Linked DNA regions of Homo sapiens: regions 2 and 3 are each linked to region 1. The links are contacts of gene promoters, found by promoter capture Hi-C in blood cells and fetal thymus (Javierre and others, 2016). All regions are on one chromosome and are shown on one strand. The core of a region is centred on a gene start or on the middle of the fragment in contact, and the rest is flanking DNA. Distances in the headings are between cores, read along the strand shown.

The links. Contacts are between HindIII fragments. The CHiCAGO score rates a contact against its expected background, and 5 or more counts as called.
Region 2: a contact is called between a fragment that was not itself captured here and the fragment with the promoter of RAB2A in region 1, in 11 of 17 cell types (non-activated CD4 T cells, naive CD4 T cells, naive CD8 T cells and 8 more). The highest score is 16.8, in non-activated CD4 T cells.
Region 3: a fragment that was not itself captured here is called in contact with the fragment with the promoter of RAB2A in region 1 in 3 of 17 cell types (total CD8 T cells, non-activated CD4 T cells and total CD4 T cells); the score reaches 6.9 in total CD8 T cells.

Annotation. Positions count from the first base shown.
Region 1 is chr8:60,515,661-60,518,272 of GRCh38, reverse strand. It overlaps RAB2A (RAB2A, member RAS oncogene family), which reads right to left and starts at 1,286. Exons shown (of 8, transcript NM_002865.3): 1 at 1,020-1,286. The coding sequence starts at 1,065. LOC124901949 (a long non-coding RNA gene) reads right to left here. Exons shown (of 3, transcript XR_007060922.1): 3 at 1,475-2,612. RefSeq lists enhancers at 1-42, 1,278-2,138 and a silencer at 833-1,702. The HindIII fragment of the contact is 4,226 bases long and covers 1-2,612 here.
Region 2 is chr8:63,168,095-63,170,706 of GRCh38, reverse strand. It overlaps YTHDF3 (YTH N6-methyladenosine RNA binding protein F3), which reads right to left and starts at 2,086. Exons shown (of 5, transcript NM_152758.6): 1 at 1,806-2,086; 2 at 1,296-1,320. The coding sequence starts at 1,829. It overlaps YTHDF3-DT (YTHDF3 divergent transcript), which reads left to right and starts at 2,265. Exons shown (of 1, transcript NR_102684.1): 1 at 2,265-2,612. RefSeq lists a silencer at 1,484-1,723 and enhancers at 1,804-2,123, 2,324-2,543. The HindIII fragment of the contact is 4,463 bases long and covers 1-2,612 here.
Region 3 is chr8:58,403,756-58,406,367 of GRCh38, reverse strand. No RefSeq gene overlaps it. Among named protein-coding and RNA genes, the nearest start is that of UBXN2B, 6.3 kb to the left of the region's middle. The HindIII fragment of the contact is 3,704 bases long and covers 1-2,612 here.

The sequences.
Region 1 (2,612 bases), core at 37-2,536:
AGAGTAACCACTGAAATCAGACTCTGGTATATTAATAGTTGCAACATCTAAACAATCTTTATGTTTATTATTAGATTCAAAGTAATGCCAAATCACAGGTATTAAAAATATCTACGAAGAGTCTGTTTACTTTTCTGTGAAATATACTAGGACGTCATTTTAAGTGAGAATAACTGAATTTCTTTCAGCTCATGGACATGAGCTCACCTGAAAATTAGCAGTTGTGACACCGGACTTGACATATCTAAAACATCAGCGTCCTCAACATACACATACCTAAGTACACACCCAGAGCACTGAACGACTTTACATTACTATATAACCCCAGTTCACACGTGGCAAAAGTCCACAGAACTCGTTCATGCTTTCCTAACCCCGAAAGGGATTCTCCAGCCGTCAAGTAATGAGATGTGACTTATTCTGACGTGAGAGTTGAAGGTGTTAAAAAAGCATATTTTATATATATGTATATATATAAAATACATATTTTAAAGGTTTCCTTTTCTCTTTCTCGGCTGCCTGTCCCACGCCAAAAAGCGCCTTGCCCAGGCCTTGATAGATGCGTGCTGGTGGAGGAAGGTTGGACTGGTCAGGAACCAAGACCCGGGCCCCAACACCTTCTGCTCCCCTAGGTTTCCCTCCTTCTTTTTCCTGGGGCCGCGAAGAGACCTAACGCAAGGGGCCCTGGGGGTGGGGTGCAGTCATGTGAGTCGGGCCCCGGCGGCCCTGCGCTAGGCCTCCCCTCCTGTCACACACTTCCTGAATCGGGCGTCGCAAACGGCTGCCACGGCCCTCAGCTGCAAGACTGGCCGGGTCGGGGGCCGCAGACCGGGCCTGGCCAGGCCGCGGCCGCTCGCAGTGCCCACGTCACCAGCTCCAGCACTGCGGAAATGGAGCGGCGCGGCCAGGAGGGAGGCGCCGGGTGGAGTCCGCGTCCCCGCCACCGCCAGACGCCGTTTGCCCCTCAGCCCGGGTCCGGAGGCCGCCGACACCCGCCCGGCCGCGCCCGGGGCCCTCACCTGTGTCGCCGATTATGATGTACTTGAAGAGATAGGCGTACGCCATGGCCGCGGCCGCTCAGTGCCAGGGCACACGGCTCCTCCTCCCGCTGCTGCTCCTCCTCCGCGCCCCAACCCCGGTGCCGCTCAGCCTCGAAACGCCAGGCGCCGCCCGCCGCCGCCGCTGCTGCTGTCAGCCGCCGGGAGTGAGGGGCTGTGAGGAAGCCGGACGAACTGACACCCGCAGAGCCGAGGGAGACAGCGCCCGACCGAGCCCAGCCGAACAATAACAGCCGCCGCGGCGCCTCCGCCCCGCCTCCGCGCCGACCCGGAAGTTCTGCGGCCGCCGGCGCCGCCGGAGGAAAGGGGAGGAGCCCCGCACGCTGGCCCAGCCCTGCACGCTGGCCGCGCCCCGCCAGCCGGAGCCCCGCCCCGCCCCGCCCCGCGCCTGCCTTGCCCGGTCCGCCCTGTCTTCCAGCAGGGCGGGGCCCGGCTCCGGTTGTTCCGCCACGTTTGAGCGGGCGAGCCCGGCGGCCGGGAGACGCCAGGGAACGGGGCTGGTGGGGGTACAAAGGCTCGGTTCCGTCGCCTTCAGCCCTGCGGTGGGGGCACGGGGCAAGTGAGGGGACGGCAGAGGCGGCGTTCGGTGTGAGGCTGCGCCCTGGGCTCCTGAAAATGTGTGTGAAAATGTGGGAGGCACACGGCGAGGGGGTGGGGGTGGCCTGGTATTTCTGTGTTTGGCATCGGGGCTTGAAGGTGAAAATGGCAGTATTTATAAATTGGAAACCGTAAATCTGGGACTGCAAAGTAAATCATGGTATGCACGCACAGTGGAGTACTACGTTGCTCTCACCTGAGGTCAGGAGTTCGAGACCAGCCTGGCCAACATGGCGAAACCGCGTCTCTACTAAAAATACATTAGCCGGGCGTGGTGGTGCTCGCCTGTAATCCCAGCTACTCGGAGTCTAAGGCAGGAGAATCACTTGAACCTGGGAGGTGGAGGTTGTAGTGAGCCGAGATTGAACCACGGCACTCCAGACTGGGCGACAGAGCGGGACTCCGTCTCAAAATAATAATAGTAAATAAAAAATAAATAAAGTCTCTGAACCTGTCCTGGTTCTGAGGGCTGCTCTAAAAAAAAAAAAAAAAAAAAAGCCTGACTTAGGTTAAGCAAAACCGAGATGATCTGTTTATGTGTGTGTATATAACATGCACCATATGTAATATATGAATTGTATATAATTTTTATGTGTAACAAATAGTGGGAAAACATTTACATACCCATATATGCATAATCAATCTGAAAGGAAAGCTAACTGGTATTAAGAGAAAGGAGGGAATGGGATTGGGGGGAAAATGTACTTTTCCCTGAATTTTTTTGTGCAGTTTGACATTTTTTGCAGTGTTCATGAGTTACCTATTAGGAAATACTGTTAAAGGAAAAAACAAAATGACTGTGCATTCAAAGAATAGTTATTGAATACTATGTTTCATGTACCGCCAGGCACAGCAACTGGAGGCCCTGTATGTTCTATGTTCTGTTTTTCTACTTTGCTTTTTCAGTCATCCAGCCCAAAATGTCACCACTCTGTTCAAAAAGACCACAGGTTATGG
Region 2 (2,612 bases), core at 50-2,549, 2.7 Mb before region 1:
ACAATTTCACAATCTCCAAGTCTACATAGTTCCTAATGGGTAGACTAGCAAAAGAAGAAATTAATGGATCATTCTTTTTAAAATTCACAAATTTTTAAAAACTCATTTAAAATAAATCAATATCCAATTTTTATTTCAGGTTTATGCTTACAACAAAAAAAATTCTAGAAATGAAATTTTAAAAATTAAAATGTCTAAATATTTACATACTGCAAGAAAACATCTTTAATGAAAACAAACAAAATGTTACCTAATATGGTGCCATGTAACTGGTATGTACAAATTCCATAATTCAGAGGAAACTAATCTACATATCCAAAACCTATTAAATTCACCAAATTTGCAATAGCAAATAAATACCCTAACAAGAATTTAAAGGGCACCAAAGACAATCTATATCTAAAAGGCTATTATAGATCTTAATTTCTAACACTGTGTTACTGAAATCAACAGAAAGCATAATTTTAGTGTAATTTCAAGCACTACAAAATGTTATATATAATTTGCTCTGATGTTATTTAATTGGCACTATCCCAAGAAAGCAGTTATTGTTCTATACTTAACTAAATGTCACATGACTAATGTCATAATGTTTCAGTCAGCTGACTGCACTGTTCCATATTAATACAAAACACACTTTTTAAAAAAACACTTTACTTTCAATGGTACTTTTACTAAAGAGAAAATTATAAAATCCTGGAAAAAATGTCACAAACTATTTTCTTCTCAGCCCTTTATAAAATACCAGATAGAGTCACACCTTGCAATCAGAACAATAGAGCAAGATGGCATGCCTACTCAGTTCTAACCTCTCTCATGTTGTTGCCTCATTACAACTGACTTCAATAGAATCAGTGATTAACAGTACAATTTTCATTAATGTGATGGAATACTATGTAGACTTCCATTTTCCAGTGTAATCCAGACATGTCAAACAAAATGTCCACTTTAAGAATATACTTGTCTATATACACATGTAGAAATTTTTTGTGGCATAAGTTACATAACACAGAAAAACTGGAAAACCAAAGAAATACCACCAGGTTCACACCAATACCTGCTTAACTGACAAGGAAACTGTTTCTCGTACTACTTTGGTTTCTATAAAGTGGCTTCAAAGCAACGAACTACCGAAGTTCTGGATAGAACTTGGCTACCTTAGCCATGATGAATATTTTCCCTAATCCTACATTTTTTCCCAAGAGGGAGCAAAAACAAACAAAATACCCTCACAGAGTTTAAAAGTAACATTAAGGCAACATTGAGCAATAAGAAAAAAAAAAATCCAAACTCACCTTTATTTCCTTGCCCTTTAGGTCTCTGTGTTGCAAGACGAAAGATGCGGTAAAGAGGAGAAAAAGGAAGAAAAGAAAAAGTGTGTTAATCAAAGGCATTATCAAAGACAAGTTATTTTAGACTATCCGCGTAGGAGTAAAAACCCACCATATCCTCCACAGCCACCAATTTCCCAACCACCCCCAGCCTTTAAACCTCCCACCCGCCACTCGGAATCCGTCTCCCAGAGCTCGCCCGGTCTCCGCCCCATGTCTGCCGCCCTCAGGATCTGTCCTAAGGCCCCTAAGACCGGTCCTTGCCCCCACCCGCCGCGGCACCGCGCCCGCCCGCCCGCAAGCTACGGGGCCAGGGCGCACGCCCCGGCCCGGGTAGCTACACCGCAGCAACTTGCGCCCGGGGCACCGTTATGGGGCCGGCAGCGGCGGCGACGGGGAGGAGCCGAAGCCCCGCGCGAGGGTGGAGCTCCGGGGCTCGGGCCTTCGCCAAGCCTGGGGCCTCTGCTCCCTCACCTGATCCACGCTAGTGGCTGACATTCTTCACCGCAACCCGAGAGCCGCCGCCGCCGCCGCTGCCTGGGCCTCTCCCCGTGCACTCACAGCAGTTGGCTGTCGCCCTTGGCCGAGTGATTGTTCCAGCCGCCGCCGCTGCCGCCGTTCGCTGAGAACCCAAAATGAGGGCCTCGCGCTCGGGAGTCGGAGGAAGAGGCCCGTCTTTTCCGCTTGCACGCTCCTCTTCCCCCTCTCGCTCTCTGCTTCTCGGGTCCACAATGGCGGACAGACTCCCTAGTCTCACTTCCGCTCCGAGCCTCCCTGACCTTCCGCTCTCCACTCTGACGTCCGCGCTCACCTCGCTCTTCCTCCCCCACCCTCCCGCCGCTGATCTTGGCTCCGCCTCCTCACCGCCACGTCACCGGAGACCGGACCCGCGCTCACGGCCGGTGGGCGCATGCGTCATGGAGGGAGCGCGTCGGGGCGTCAGCGAGCGCCAACTTTCAGCGTCTTTTCTGCGGCTTCCTTCTATCCCGCTCCGAGGCTGCAGGGCCCTGGCAGAGTGGCGTCAGCTGGAAGGCTGGCCAGAGCCGGATTTTGTTGCACTCCGGGCAGGAAGATGGCCGAGGCGGCGGCTGACGGAGATAGTAGTGCCTTGCTGAAGTCACGGCGGCCGGCGGCGCCCTCCTGGAGGCTGACGGGACGGAGGCAGGGAACTTCCCGGTGAGCCAGCCGGGCCTAGCAGGAGCCTTCGGCGGCTGCCCAAAGCCGTGGGGACGGCTGGCTGACTCAGCCGCTCTCTGGACGGAGTTGCTGGGTCCCCACAAG
Region 3 (2,612 bases), core at 56-2,555, 2.1 Mb after region 1:
ATTCAGTGACAACATGTTAGTAGCTTGAAATCTACCATGGTGTAAGTATTCCCACCTCAGAAATTGGTAAACGCCATAAATAAAAGTTCGATTTCTTGTTTTGTTGATTGCCCACTGGAGATTTAAGGATCTGTTGGAGAAAATGTTTACGAGGCAGATAAGACTTAAAAGTATGCTGTGCCTGCAGCTGTTATGCTGTGAATAGCAAAAGAAAAAAAATGTAAATTTTCCTCTAGTATTTGAAAATTACTAGCTGATTCCGGAAGAAGTTGCTCACGTTGTTGAGTTACTATGGGTGTTTGTGTTTCACTTGCATCTTATGTGTATCTTGTTAATGTGAACAAAAATATCAACAAACATTCAAGTGGTCGCCTTGAAGTCTCCTTTCTTTTGGCTTGTGATGAAAGTGATATCTTTCCCCATTCTTCTTCAAAGAACTACGACCACATACCTCACTCTCCTTGATTCTCTATTTTCTGTTCTCAAAGTGGGTGAGGAGGTTCAAGAATCATGACATTCATCGTCTTTGAAACATTCTCCAGGAGCATCTTTCTCACACCCATTTTGACCTATCATATATATTATGGGGTCCTTAAACTGGAAACTTAATGTTAAACATTTTATTATACTTATTTTCTCCTTCCATTAGACTAAGCTCATGGAGTATGTGGGCCAGGACTTCATCTCTAGTGCCTTAACACAGAACCTGGAACCATAATATGTACTTTTAATAACTATTTGCATGAGTGAGTGAATGAAGGTGGTAGGGATCCTGTATTGGTCTGTTCTTGTGCTGCTATAAAGAAATATCCGAGACTGGATAATTTATAAAGAAAAGGGGCTAAATGGCTCATTGTTCTGCAGGCTATAGAGGTAGCAGAACAGCTTCTGCTTGGCTTCTAGAGGCCTCAGGAAAGTTATAATCATGGCAGAAGGCAAAGGGGAAGAGAAGCAGGTACATCTTACATGTCTGGAGCAGGAGGAAGTGTGGGGAGGTGCCACACACTTTTAAACAAACAGATCTTGTGAGAACTCTATCACAAGAACAGCACTGGGGGGATAGTGCTAAACCATTAGAAGCAGCCCCTGTTATCCAATCACCTCCCACCAGGGCCCACCTCTAGCACAGGAGATTACATTTCAACCTGAGATTTGGGTGGGGGCACAGATCCAAACCATATCAGATCCATAACTCAAACCACATTTGACTATCTCCAAAGCCCATTTTCCATTCATGGAAAGTCAAGAAATAAGAAGATCTATCAACAGATATCTTCATTAGATACAGACAGGACAGACAGTATAAAATGCAGGCCTATTTATATTGCACTTCTAAACCAAATCCAGCTCCAACTTCACAACCTAAATGAAACTCACGTTTGTGTAATTTTACATATGCTGGACATCACTGAGAACAAGATCAGAGGTCACTGTAATATATAATGGCCTTGTTCCATCCTTTAAAACATTTTTATCTCATTCTAAAAATAGAAATAGAATATTTACAGTTGGTAATTTTCATGGATTGCACATTATTTCATGTAATCTACAACAACTTTCTGGGATAGGTATTGTCTCCATCTTACAGAAGTAGTTGAGGATCAGAGAAATAAGATGAATTTCCTTATGTCACTCAGCTATTAAGTAGCAGAACTAAATTTTAAATTCAGGTCCATTACACTCAAAAGCATATGTTTTTTTTTTTGTTTGTGTTTTTGGTTAAAAAATACCATCTCCGTGTCTCCTGGGAGCTTTTTGCAGCCTCTGACTCTTGTGATTTTACCTTTCCTGAAATTTCCTCATGATACTGCTTAACATTGGTCTTCTTACCTACCTGACCATTCCTTTTGAGCTTCTCCTAACATTTTATCTTCTATCCACCCTCTAAATAATGATGTTCTTTAGGGCTCTGCCTTTGCCACTCTTATTTGCTCACTGTGTATATGCTTTCGCTGTTCAATATCTTCTGTTCTCATACCTACTATTTACACACAGTCAATTCTCATTATTTACAGTAGTTATGTTCCTTAAAGCCATTGAGAACACTGAGTTATTGAATACTGAATCATTGCTGCTAGGGAAAATACAGGGTAGGTTCCTGTGAACTTCTTACATTTTCATCAACTGATCAATGCATAACCTTGTTTTATGTCTATTTCTGTTGAAGACCCCATGTTTAATATGATCATTGATCCACTCACATTGAACTCACAGCCACCAGCACTATAACTCCTGCATGAAGGAAGTTTATCTAGCACATGCATTTTCTCCATAAGGACATCACAGCCTCTTGTACTTAGGAACACCAGACAGTACTTCAGCACTACCCTTGGGGGCCATCTCAAACAGCAAAATCACCAACAAAAAGCACAAACATGTGAAAAACATGGCACTAAATAGAATGTGCAAGGACACTTATTTAAAGTATAAAAGCTGAAATAAAAAGGCAGAATGTCACCTTGTTTGAGCTCAGCTGGGAATGTGCTCATGGGGCAACAGAAATATTTTGCTCCTTTGTGTCTGGGTTTGATCACAAAGCACTGCATGTATTTGGTTTGGGGGTCACAAATACATTTTGTGAGTAGGTGAATATGCAAATATGGAATCTGCGA